Linked DNA regions of Homo sapiens: region 1 is linked to region 2. Evidence: promoter capture Hi-C in 16 types of primary human blood cells and fetal thymus (Javierre and others, 2016). All regions are on one chromosome and are shown on one strand. Each heading gives the region's core, a stretch centred on a gene start or on the middle of the fragment in contact. The rest is flanking DNA. Distances are from core to core; before and after follow the strand shown. Region 1 overlaps LINC00662 (long intergenic non-protein coding RNA 662). Region 2 holds the start of POP4 (POP4 ribonuclease P/MRP subunit).

Region 1 (4,798 bases), core at 1,819-4,318, 1.8 Mb before region 2:
GTCTCTACTAAAAATACAAAAATTAGCCGGGCATGGTAGCGGGCATCTGTAATCCAAGCTACTCAGGAGGCTGAGGCAGGAGAATCGCTTGAACTCAGCGGGTGGAGGTTGCAGTGAGCTGAGATTGCACCACTTCACTACAGCCTCGGCAACAGAGTGAGACTCTGTCAAAAAAACAAAACAAAAAGAAGAAGAAGAAGAAGAAGAAGACGAAGGGTCTCAAATCAATAACCTAACTTTATGACCTAACAAATTAGAAAAAGAATGAACTATGCACGAAATAAACAGAAAGAAGAAAATAATGAAGATCTTAGTAGAGATAAAGAAAATAGAGACCAGAAAAACAGAAAACCAACAAAACCAAAAGTTGGTTCTTGGTTCTTCAAAAATGTTGACAAATTCACAAACTTCTAGCTACACTATGAAAAAAATTACAGAATACTCAAAATAGTAGAATGAGAAATGAGATGGGGACATTACTACTAATTCTTCTTTTTTTTTTTTTTTTTTTGACAGAGTCTCGCTCTGTCACCAGGCCGGAGTGCAGTGGCCCGATCTCAGCTCACTGCAACCTCCGCCTCCCAGGTTCAAGCGATTCTCCTGCCTCAGCCTCTCAAGTAGCTGGGATTAGAAGCATGCACCACCATGCCCAGCTGATTTTTGTATTTTTAGTAGAGACAGGGTTTCACCATATTGGCCAGAATGGTCTCAATTTCCTGATCTCATGATCTGCCTGCCTGATTCTAAGAAATAAAATGTTTTAAAGAGTGTACTGTGAACAACTGTGTGACAACAAAATGAACAATCTAGATGAAATGGACAAATTTCTAGGTATAAAAAACCTAGCAAGACTTGATTACCAAGAATAGAAAAATTGAATTGATCCATAACTTATAAGGAAATCAAATCAAAAATCAAAAACCTGCTGACAAAGAAAAGCCCTTGACCTGATGGCTTCAGTAGTTAATTCTACCAAACATTTTGAAAGACTGAAAATCTTTTTCAAACTCTTCCAAAAAATTGAAAAGGAGAGATCAGTTCCAAACTCATTCCACAATCTCAGCATTACCGTATATCAAAGCCAGAAAAAGACACTACAGAAAACTACAGATTAATTATCCCTTATGAACACAGATGCAAAACTCAACAAAATTCCAGCAAATAAAATTCAGCAGCATATTAGAAAGATGATCTCACCATCTTGAATTAATTTTTGTATAAGGTGTAAGGAAGGGATCGAGTTTCAGCTTTCTACGTATGGCTAGCCAGTTTTCCCAGCACCATTTATTAAATAGGGAATCCTTTCCCCATTGCTTGTTTTTCTCAGGTTTATCAAAGATCAGATAATTGTAGATATGTGGTGTTATTTCTGAGGGCTCTGCTAGACCTAAAACTATAAAAACCCTAGAAGAAAACCTAGGCATTACCATTCAGGACATAGGCATGGGCAAGGACTTCATGTCTAAAACACCAAAAGCAATGGCAACAAAAGCCAAAATTGACAAATAGGATCTAATTAAACTAAAGCGCTTCTGCATAGCAAAAGAAACTACATCAGAGTGAACAGGCAACCTACAAAATAGGAGAAAATTTTTGCAACCTACTCATCTGACAGAGGGCTAATATCCAGAATCTACAATGAACTCAAACAAATTTACAAGAAAAAAACAAACAACCCCATCAAAAAGTGGGAGAAGGACATGAACAGACACTTCTCAAAAGAAGACATTTATGCAGCCAAAAAACACATGAAAAAATGCTCACCATCACTGGCCATCAGAGAAATGCAAATCAAAACCACAATGAGATACCATCTCACACCAGTTAGAATGGCAATCATTAAAAAGTCAGGAAACAACAGGTGCTGGAGAGGATGTGGAGAAATAGGAACACTTTTACACTGTTGGTGGGACTGTAAACTAGTTCAACCATTGTGGAAGTCAGTGTGGTGATTCCTCCGGGATCTAGAACTAGAAATACCATTTGACCCAGCCATCCCATTACTGGGTGTATACCCTAAGGACTATAAATAATGCTGCTATAAAGACACATGCACACGTATGTTTATTGCGGCACTATTCACAATAGCAAAGACTTGGAAGCAACCCAAATGTCCAACGATAGACTGGATTAAGAAAATGTGGCACATATACACCATGGAATACTATGCAGCCATAAAAAATGATGAGTTCATGTCCTTTGTAGGGACATGGATGAAATTGGAAATCATCATTCTCAGTAAACTATCGCAAGAACAAAAAACCAAACACTGCATATTCTCACTCATAGGTGGGAATTGAACAATGAGAACACATGGACACAGGAAGGGGAACATCACACTCTGGGGACTGTTGTGGGGTGGGGGGAGCGGGGAGGGATAGCTTTAGGAGATATACCTAATGCTAAATGACAATTTAATGGGTGCAGCACACCAGCATGGCACATGTATACATATGTAACTAACCTGCACATTGTGCACATGTACCCTATAACTTAAAGTATAATAATAATAAAATTTAAAAAAAAAGAAAGATGATCTCACCACGACCAAGTGCAATTTATTCTTAGAATGCAAGGATATCTTAAAACATGAATTTTTTAACATATAAAAATTGATCAATGTGTACACATTAACAAAATAAAAGAAACATTGATCACCTCATGGATGCAGAGAAAAGTATTTTATGAAATTCAAAATCTTTTCAGGGTGAAAACACTCAAAAAAGTAGGAATTTTAAAACTAAAATACTACCATTGTGAAATCCACACATTAAAAAACCACATCAAACAATGTACTCCAGGGTGAAAGACAAAAAGCTTCTGCTCTAAGCTCAGGAACAAGGCAAAGGTGTCTGCTTTTGCTATTTCTATTCCACATAGTGTTGGAAGTTCTAGTCAAATTAAGAATTAAAAAGAAACAAACTATCCAAATTGGAAATGTAGAGGTAAAATTACTCTAGCCTACAGATAATATAATTTTATGTGGAAAGCTCTAGAGATTTCACAGATCCACACAAAAAGTATTACAACTAATAAATTCAGCATAGTAGCAGCATACAAAATTAACATGCAAATATCACTTGTGTTTCTATACAGTAATGATGAATAATTAGAAAACAAAACTAAGCAAACAAGCACATTTACAATAGCACTGAAAAGAATAAAATACGTCGGGAGTAACAAAAAAAGCAAAAAATTCTATTTTGCAGAAATAGAAAAATCCTACCTAAATTTCATATGGAATCTCAAGGGACCCCAATGAGTCAAAATTATCTTGAAAAAGAAGTCCAGTGTTACAAAATGTACACTTATTCATTCCAAAGCTTAATACAAAGTTCCAAAATAGTGTGGTACTGGCAAAGAGACACACATATGGACACTGGAACAGTATAAAGCAGCATATGGTCAAATAATTTTTGATGGGGATACAAAGACCGTTCAATGGGCAAAGGACTGTCTTTATAACAATTGGTGCTGGGAAAAAATGGATATCCACAAGCAAAAGGATGAAGTTGAACATTTACCCTACACCATAAACAAATAAAAATGCATCAAAGACCTAAAGGTAAGAACTTAAAGTATAAAATTTTTGAATAAAATATAAGTAGAAAACATCATGACAATATCACAAATATAATGACACATTTAAAAAAGTAGATGTGGCCAGGCATGGTGGCTCACGCCTGTAATCCCAGCACTTTGGGAGGAGGAGGCAGCCGGATAACGAGGTCAAGAGATTGAGACCATCCTGGTCAACATGGTGAAACCCCGTCTCTACTAAAAATACAAAAATCAGCTGGGCGTGGTGGCGCATGCCTGTAGTCCCAGATACTTGGGAGGCTGAGGCATAAGAATCGCTTGAACCCAGGAGGTGGAGGTTGCAGTGAGCCGAGACAGGCCACGGCACTGTACAGCCTGGTGACAGAGCGAGACTCTGTCTCAAATAACTAAAAAAGAAAAAAAGAAAAAGTAGGTGTAAAACTATCCATAGTAGATACTCTCATTTACATAAAATCCAGTAAGAAAACAAAACTGAAGTTCTGGCTTCCGGTAATACTGGAGTAGCTTGCTAAACTAACACTCTCACAGATAACAATGATACAATCTGGATAAAATATTATATATAGTTACATAGAAACATTCATCTATATACAATACATACATACGTGTGTGTGACTGAATGAGAATTTCAACCTTTCCCACCGTAGGGAAGATAATTATTCTGTTTGAATTCAGCCACATTTACCCCCTCTTCAAATAATAACAATGCTCTTCCAAAGAATACAACAGAATTTAGTCTCTATAACTAATATTTATAATTTCTATTACACAATATTAAAATTCATAAAATGTGTGAAGAAATGTAACATGCAAACTATACACAAGATAAAAAGCAGGCAGCAGAAGCTATTTCTAAGATGTCCGAGATGATGTAATCAGCAGACAAGTATTTCAGGGCAGCTATTATAAGTACGTTCATGGGGGTAAAGGAAAATATTCTCATAATGAATTAACTCATGTAGAGTCTCAGCAGAGACATGGAAATTATAAAAAGAGTAAAATAGAAGACAATAAAATAATAAAATAAAAAGAACTTTTAGTTTACAGAGTAGAAACAGAAGACAGCAATATAAACCATCCAATCTGAAGACTGAAACAAGTTTAAAGAAAATGAAAAGAGGCCTAAGAGACCTGTGAAATGATTGAGTCTGAGACAGAGAGGGAGAGACAGAAAAATTAAATATAATACAAAAACAAATAAACAATAGCTGAAAATTTAAAAACTTGGTCAAAACCG
Region 2 (5,081 bases), core at 1,819-4,318:
AAAGCTTTTGAACAGTAAGGAAAGGAAAGAAAAGGAAAGTATTATACAAGTTGGAAGGACAAGCAGGCAACTTGAGAAACCAAGAGCGCAGCCTGACCCCTTGACTTGGGGTTTTACACGTTGGCCTACTTCCAGGATCTACTTCCAGGATCTTACATTACTTCTCCCCACTCCTGAGATCTTACAGGAAGCTGCTGATCAGTTTCAGGTGTTTTCTATCTGTTAGGCGGCTGCCTGTTCCCTAGCGCCAGCTGTGGCCAATTACTTTAGAGAAACAGTTAACAACCACCTGACCATCACCTGATGGTGGCCCAACACCCCTGGTGTGTGTAGCGGGGAGCCTTCTCCTGCCCTGCTCATACCTGACTACCTACCTACTGTAACAAATGTGCCATACCTAGGAACAGTTTATAAAAACAGATTACTGGGACCCACCTTATAAAAACAGATTATTGAGACCCACTGGATAAAAACGAATCTCCAGGTATGATACCAAGAAATTTGAAATGAAAGCTTACCCTGTGATTGTGATCCTGTATTTGGTCTGTGGATCAAGCAAATTAAGTGTGTGCTAACTAATCAGGTAAATTAATGCATTTAATAATGCATTAATTAGCATACCTAATTACCTAATTAGCACATAGTTAATTTGCTTGATCCACTATGATCAAATATAGCATTGTTTTTAAGTTTTTGCTATTATAAACAAAAATCACAAACATCCTCACAGGTATCTCTCTGCATACAGAAACATTTTCTGAGAATAATCAAGTGGTTTGTTTGCTTTTTATTTTTTTTGTTTGTTTGCTTTTTAAAAAATATTTTAGGCTGGGCGCAGTGGCTCACCCCTGTAATCTCAGCACTTTGGGAGGCCGAGGCGGGTGGATCATGAGATCAGGAGTTCGAGACCAACCTGACCAACATGGTAAAACCCTGTCTCTACTAAAAATACAAAAATTAGCTGGGCGTGGTGGTGTGTGCCTGTAATCTCAGCTACTCAGGAGGCTGAGGCAGGAGAATCACTTCAACCTAGGAGGCAGAGGTTGCAGTGAGCCGAGATCACACCATTGCACTCCAGCCTGGACAACACAGCAAGACTCCGTCTCAAAAAAAAAAATATTTTAATGATGAAGGAACTATGTTGTAATTGCAACTCAAGGACGACCCACCCCACCACCATCAGGGAATTCGAGGGGAGACTGGCAGTTATCCAGGGATCCCAGAAGGAGTCAACTGGGAGTTAAGAGTCCTAACAACCCTAGAAAAAAACTTTCAAAGACACAGGTCTTCTCATTAATCTCCATAATCACAGAGGTCTTGCCTAAAAGGGCCCCCCTTGAGTACACAGCTCTGAAACTGGCTAACATCTTCTGCTGTCTCATTTGATTTTAAAGTTCACATTTGTGAAGGGCTCTATTGTACAACATGGTGACTATAGTTAATAACAGTGAATTTCAGTTAATAACCTGAATTTCACTGAGAGTAGGTCTGAAGTGTTCTCATCACAAAATGAGTGTATTAGCATCGCTCATAGCTCATTTAGCCATTACACAATGTATACACATTTCAAACCATATTGTATACCATAAATACATACAATTCTTATTGGTTAATTTTAAAAATAATAAAAGTTCTCTATCAGTCCCATAAATTACAATTTTCAGGCATCTGCAAAGGCAGCATGTTTTGGTTTAAATGTGGTCTTTCCAAATTTTATACGTATAAAATAAATGCATAAGTGTACTACATATGCAAAAACTAATACATAAATTTTATAAAGTCAATGCACGCGGGGTCACTGGGATGAACCAATTTCAGTGCCTGCAGTCTAATGTTTAAAATCAAAATGGTACAAGGTCACCACCAAAGAAATTGTTTAAGCCAATGTTTCTCAAACTAAAACCTTTGGACATACTCCCAGAATCCCCTGTAAAGAAATGTATACTGTACTCAAAGTTGAGAACCACTGACTTAGCATAAAGGGACCGTATTTCTTTTCTCTCCCACCCAGCACAGGCCCAGTGCTCAGCAGAAATTGGGGCTCCACAGTTCTGCCCAACACTGGGTCACTGCTGAGAAGTCTGCACCAGGCCTTCCTGCACCTTTCCACTGAGCAATGGAGTTTGTTTATTCATTTATTTATTTATATGGAATTTATTTATTTATTTTGGAGACAGGGTCTCACTCTGTCACCCAGGCTGGAGTGCAGTAGCGCAATCCAGGTTCACTGCAGCCCTAAACTCCTTGGGCTCAACTGATCCTCCCACCTCAGATACCCGAGTAGTTGGGACTACAAGCACGCACCACCACGCCTGGATAATTTTTTTTAAATGTTTTGTAGAGATGGGGTCTCCCGATGTTGCCCAGGCTGGTCTCGAACTCCTGGGCTCAAGAGATCCTCCCGCCTGCGCCTCCCACGGTGTGAGCCACCTTTGATCTTATTGCTATGATTTTTTTATTGATAAAAACTAATAAATATTCTGAGTCTCAAGAAAGCTTTCTGAAACTATCAAAGGGACCCAGGCGGCGCATCACTACCTGTGAGGCCGACCCCACTCACAGCACAGACTGCAAGTGAGGCTTACAGATGGGAAGTGCCCTAAGCGAGGTTAAACAGCTAGTTAGCAGCAGACACGGAACTAGAACCTAAGCCTGCTGTCCCAGCTTCGGTGCCCGTGCTCACAGCGGAAGCTGCCTCGGCTCATCCGTAAGGGCGCTGATTAGGGACGACAAAGACCTCACCCCACCGTCCCCGTCCCATTTCCGCCCTCCCAGATCCCCAACCTCCTTCGAGTCCTCTCCAAGTCGCCTCGCCTCGCTCCACTCCAGGCCTTAGCAAGCATTCCACATGCCTTTACCCCAACCCTACTGCCTGTCCCCCAAAAGATGCAGGCGGAAAAGACCCCAGGAAGCGAGCCCACTCCTCCCCACTGCTCAGCAACACCGCCTACGACGTTCTCAGTAGCCGAATCCCTTTCCAGGCGCATGCGCCCCCGAGGTGGGCGAGCGCCGGTGATGTCACGCATAGCGCCATCTCCGAGCTCCGAGAGTCTGCGACAGCAGCTGCCAGTGCGTCATCAGAGAGCGCCGGAAGCGGTCCGAGAATGAAGAGTAAGCGGGGCCGCGAAGTTGGAGAGGGTTGGGGACGTTAAGGGTCGGGGTCTTGGTACTGGTGGGTGAAATGGGTCCGGGCTACCTGTTGCTGCGGAGTCCTAACAGAACCGCTACAGGAATGGGCCCACCCTACCTAAGAAAAACTGAGGGCTGGAGCACGGGTTAGCCTGGCTCGACCTCTGAGCTAGGGAGGGATGTCAGGGCTGGAGGCAGGTTCTCCCGGAGGCTGCTCAGTGGTGTGCGATGCTAGAGGAGGGTTCCAGGCCTTGGCTCAACTTGGCCACTATCTCCCGGGGTGACCGCGGTCAAGATCCTGCTCCTTTCTGCGAGCTGGTTTCACACTCTTAACCTGATGCAAAGCGCCGAGAGCTGCTGGGGAATGATATCACTAACCCAAAGCTTTGGTCCTTAGGGGTAGAAGACATGTGCCAAGGAGGGGCGTGTAGACACCGTTAAGACTGGGCCTTCAATCAGAATTTTTATTTTTCATCTCTGCCACTTTCTACCTATATGATCAAGTAGATTGTCTCGGCATGTCTGAGCTTCAGTTTGCTCATGCACATAAGTGTAATGAGAAAAAATATGTGTACCTTGTAATGAGGTTTCTGGCAAGTAATGGATGTTCAGTAATTGTTAGATGTGTATTGTTGCAGAAAGACTTCCAAGTCTGTTACTAAGCACCTGTAACAGATGAAGCAAAGTTATCAGGCCCCGCAAGTTGCTCTCTACAGTTTATAATCCCCATCTTCCATTTGAGGGAGAACTAGATGCTATATATAAAACTTGCAACCACATTGGTTTGCTTGATCAAACAAACATACCTGGCTGGGTGTGGTGGGACACGCCTGTGGTCCCAGCACTTTGGGAGGCTGAGGCAGGGGGATCACTTGAGGCCAAGAGTTGAAGACCAACTTGGGCAACAACATAGCGAGACCCTGTCTCTACAAAAACTGGAAAAAAAAAAAAAGAATTAGCCAGGTGTGGTGGCACACACCTGTAGTCTCAGCTACTCAGGAGACTGAGGTGGGAGGATCACTTGAAACCAGGAGGTCGAAGTTGCAGTGAGCTATGATTGTGCCACTGCACTCCAGCCAGGGCAACAGAGCAAAACCCAGTATCAAAACAAACAAACAAACAACAAAAAAAAAAAACTTGTAACCACCTTGCATCAAACATTCTCAGGGAAGTACAAGAAAGCTGGAATTAAATTTACAGAGTATAGTGTAAATTACATTTTCTAGCTATTTAGCTCATAAACCAGGCCTTAGTAGTCCCATTCTTATTCCATTCACACCTGTACTCTGTCCCCAGTGCCATGGTTTTCTTCTTTCAAAAAATTAAGAAACAGAAGTGTGGAATTTATTTTAGAGGTTGAAACTTTATTGACCAATGTATATTTTGAGTTTAAAGGAAAAACTTGTATTTTATCAGTTCAGGACACCATCGATTATGTGACACATTATAATTTCATATTAAAATGTGAAGAATCTTTTTAAACATCTTACAGTTAACAAAACCTATTTCTAACCATCTACATCCTAGACAGCTATATCATATAACTTTTAATGAGTTACCTTGTTAGCAAGTGCTCAAGCTTCTAACTTGGGGTATTTTAAACCAATGCAACTCAAAATGTGATTCACTGACCTGCAGTAGTATCTGGGAATATGTTAAACACTCAGGATCTAGGGTAGGAGACCAATAATCTGCATTTTAATAAGATCCCAGAGATTTTTACACACGTTAAATTTTGAGAAGCATTCTTTTTAAACCATGTGCTTGGAACTTCTAGCATAGATGTGGCCAGAGGGTGGGATAAGAGGCATCCAAGAAAGCTTTGCTCTTAATACCAACCTCATCTTCTCCTATCTCTGAATAAGCAGTTGTTCTGCTATAAGTGTAGAAGTGTAGTTATTTTCTTTTCTTTTCTTTTCTTTTTTTTTTTTTTTTTTTTTTGAGACAGAGTC

Evidence for each region. The method cuts DNA at HindIII sites, captures the fragments that hold promoters and counts their contacts. A CHiCAGO score of 5 or more calls a contact.
Region 1: a contact is called between a fragment that was not itself captured here and the fragment with the promoter of POP4 in region 2, in 3 of 17 cell types (total CD8 T cells, naive CD4 T cells and total B cells). The highest score is 6.2, in total CD8 T cells.

The regions. Positions count from the first base shown.
Region 1 is chr19:27,787,955-27,792,752 of GRCh38, forward strand. LINC00662 (long intergenic non-protein coding RNA 662) reads right to left here. Exons shown (of 3, transcript NR_027301.1): 3 at 2,539-3,947. Among named protein-coding and RNA genes, the nearest start is that of LINC02987, 3.1 kb to the right of the region's middle. The HindIII fragment of the contact is 506 bases long and covers 2,816-3,321 here.
Region 2 is chr19:29,603,215-29,608,295 of GRCh38, forward strand. It overlaps POP4 (POP4 ribonuclease P/MRP subunit), which reads left to right and starts at 3,069. Exons shown (of 7, transcript NM_006627.3): 1 at 3,069-3,111. The coding sequence starts at 3,105. RefSeq lists an enhancer at 2,722-3,211. The HindIII fragment of the contact is 1,017 bases long and covers 2,495-3,511 here.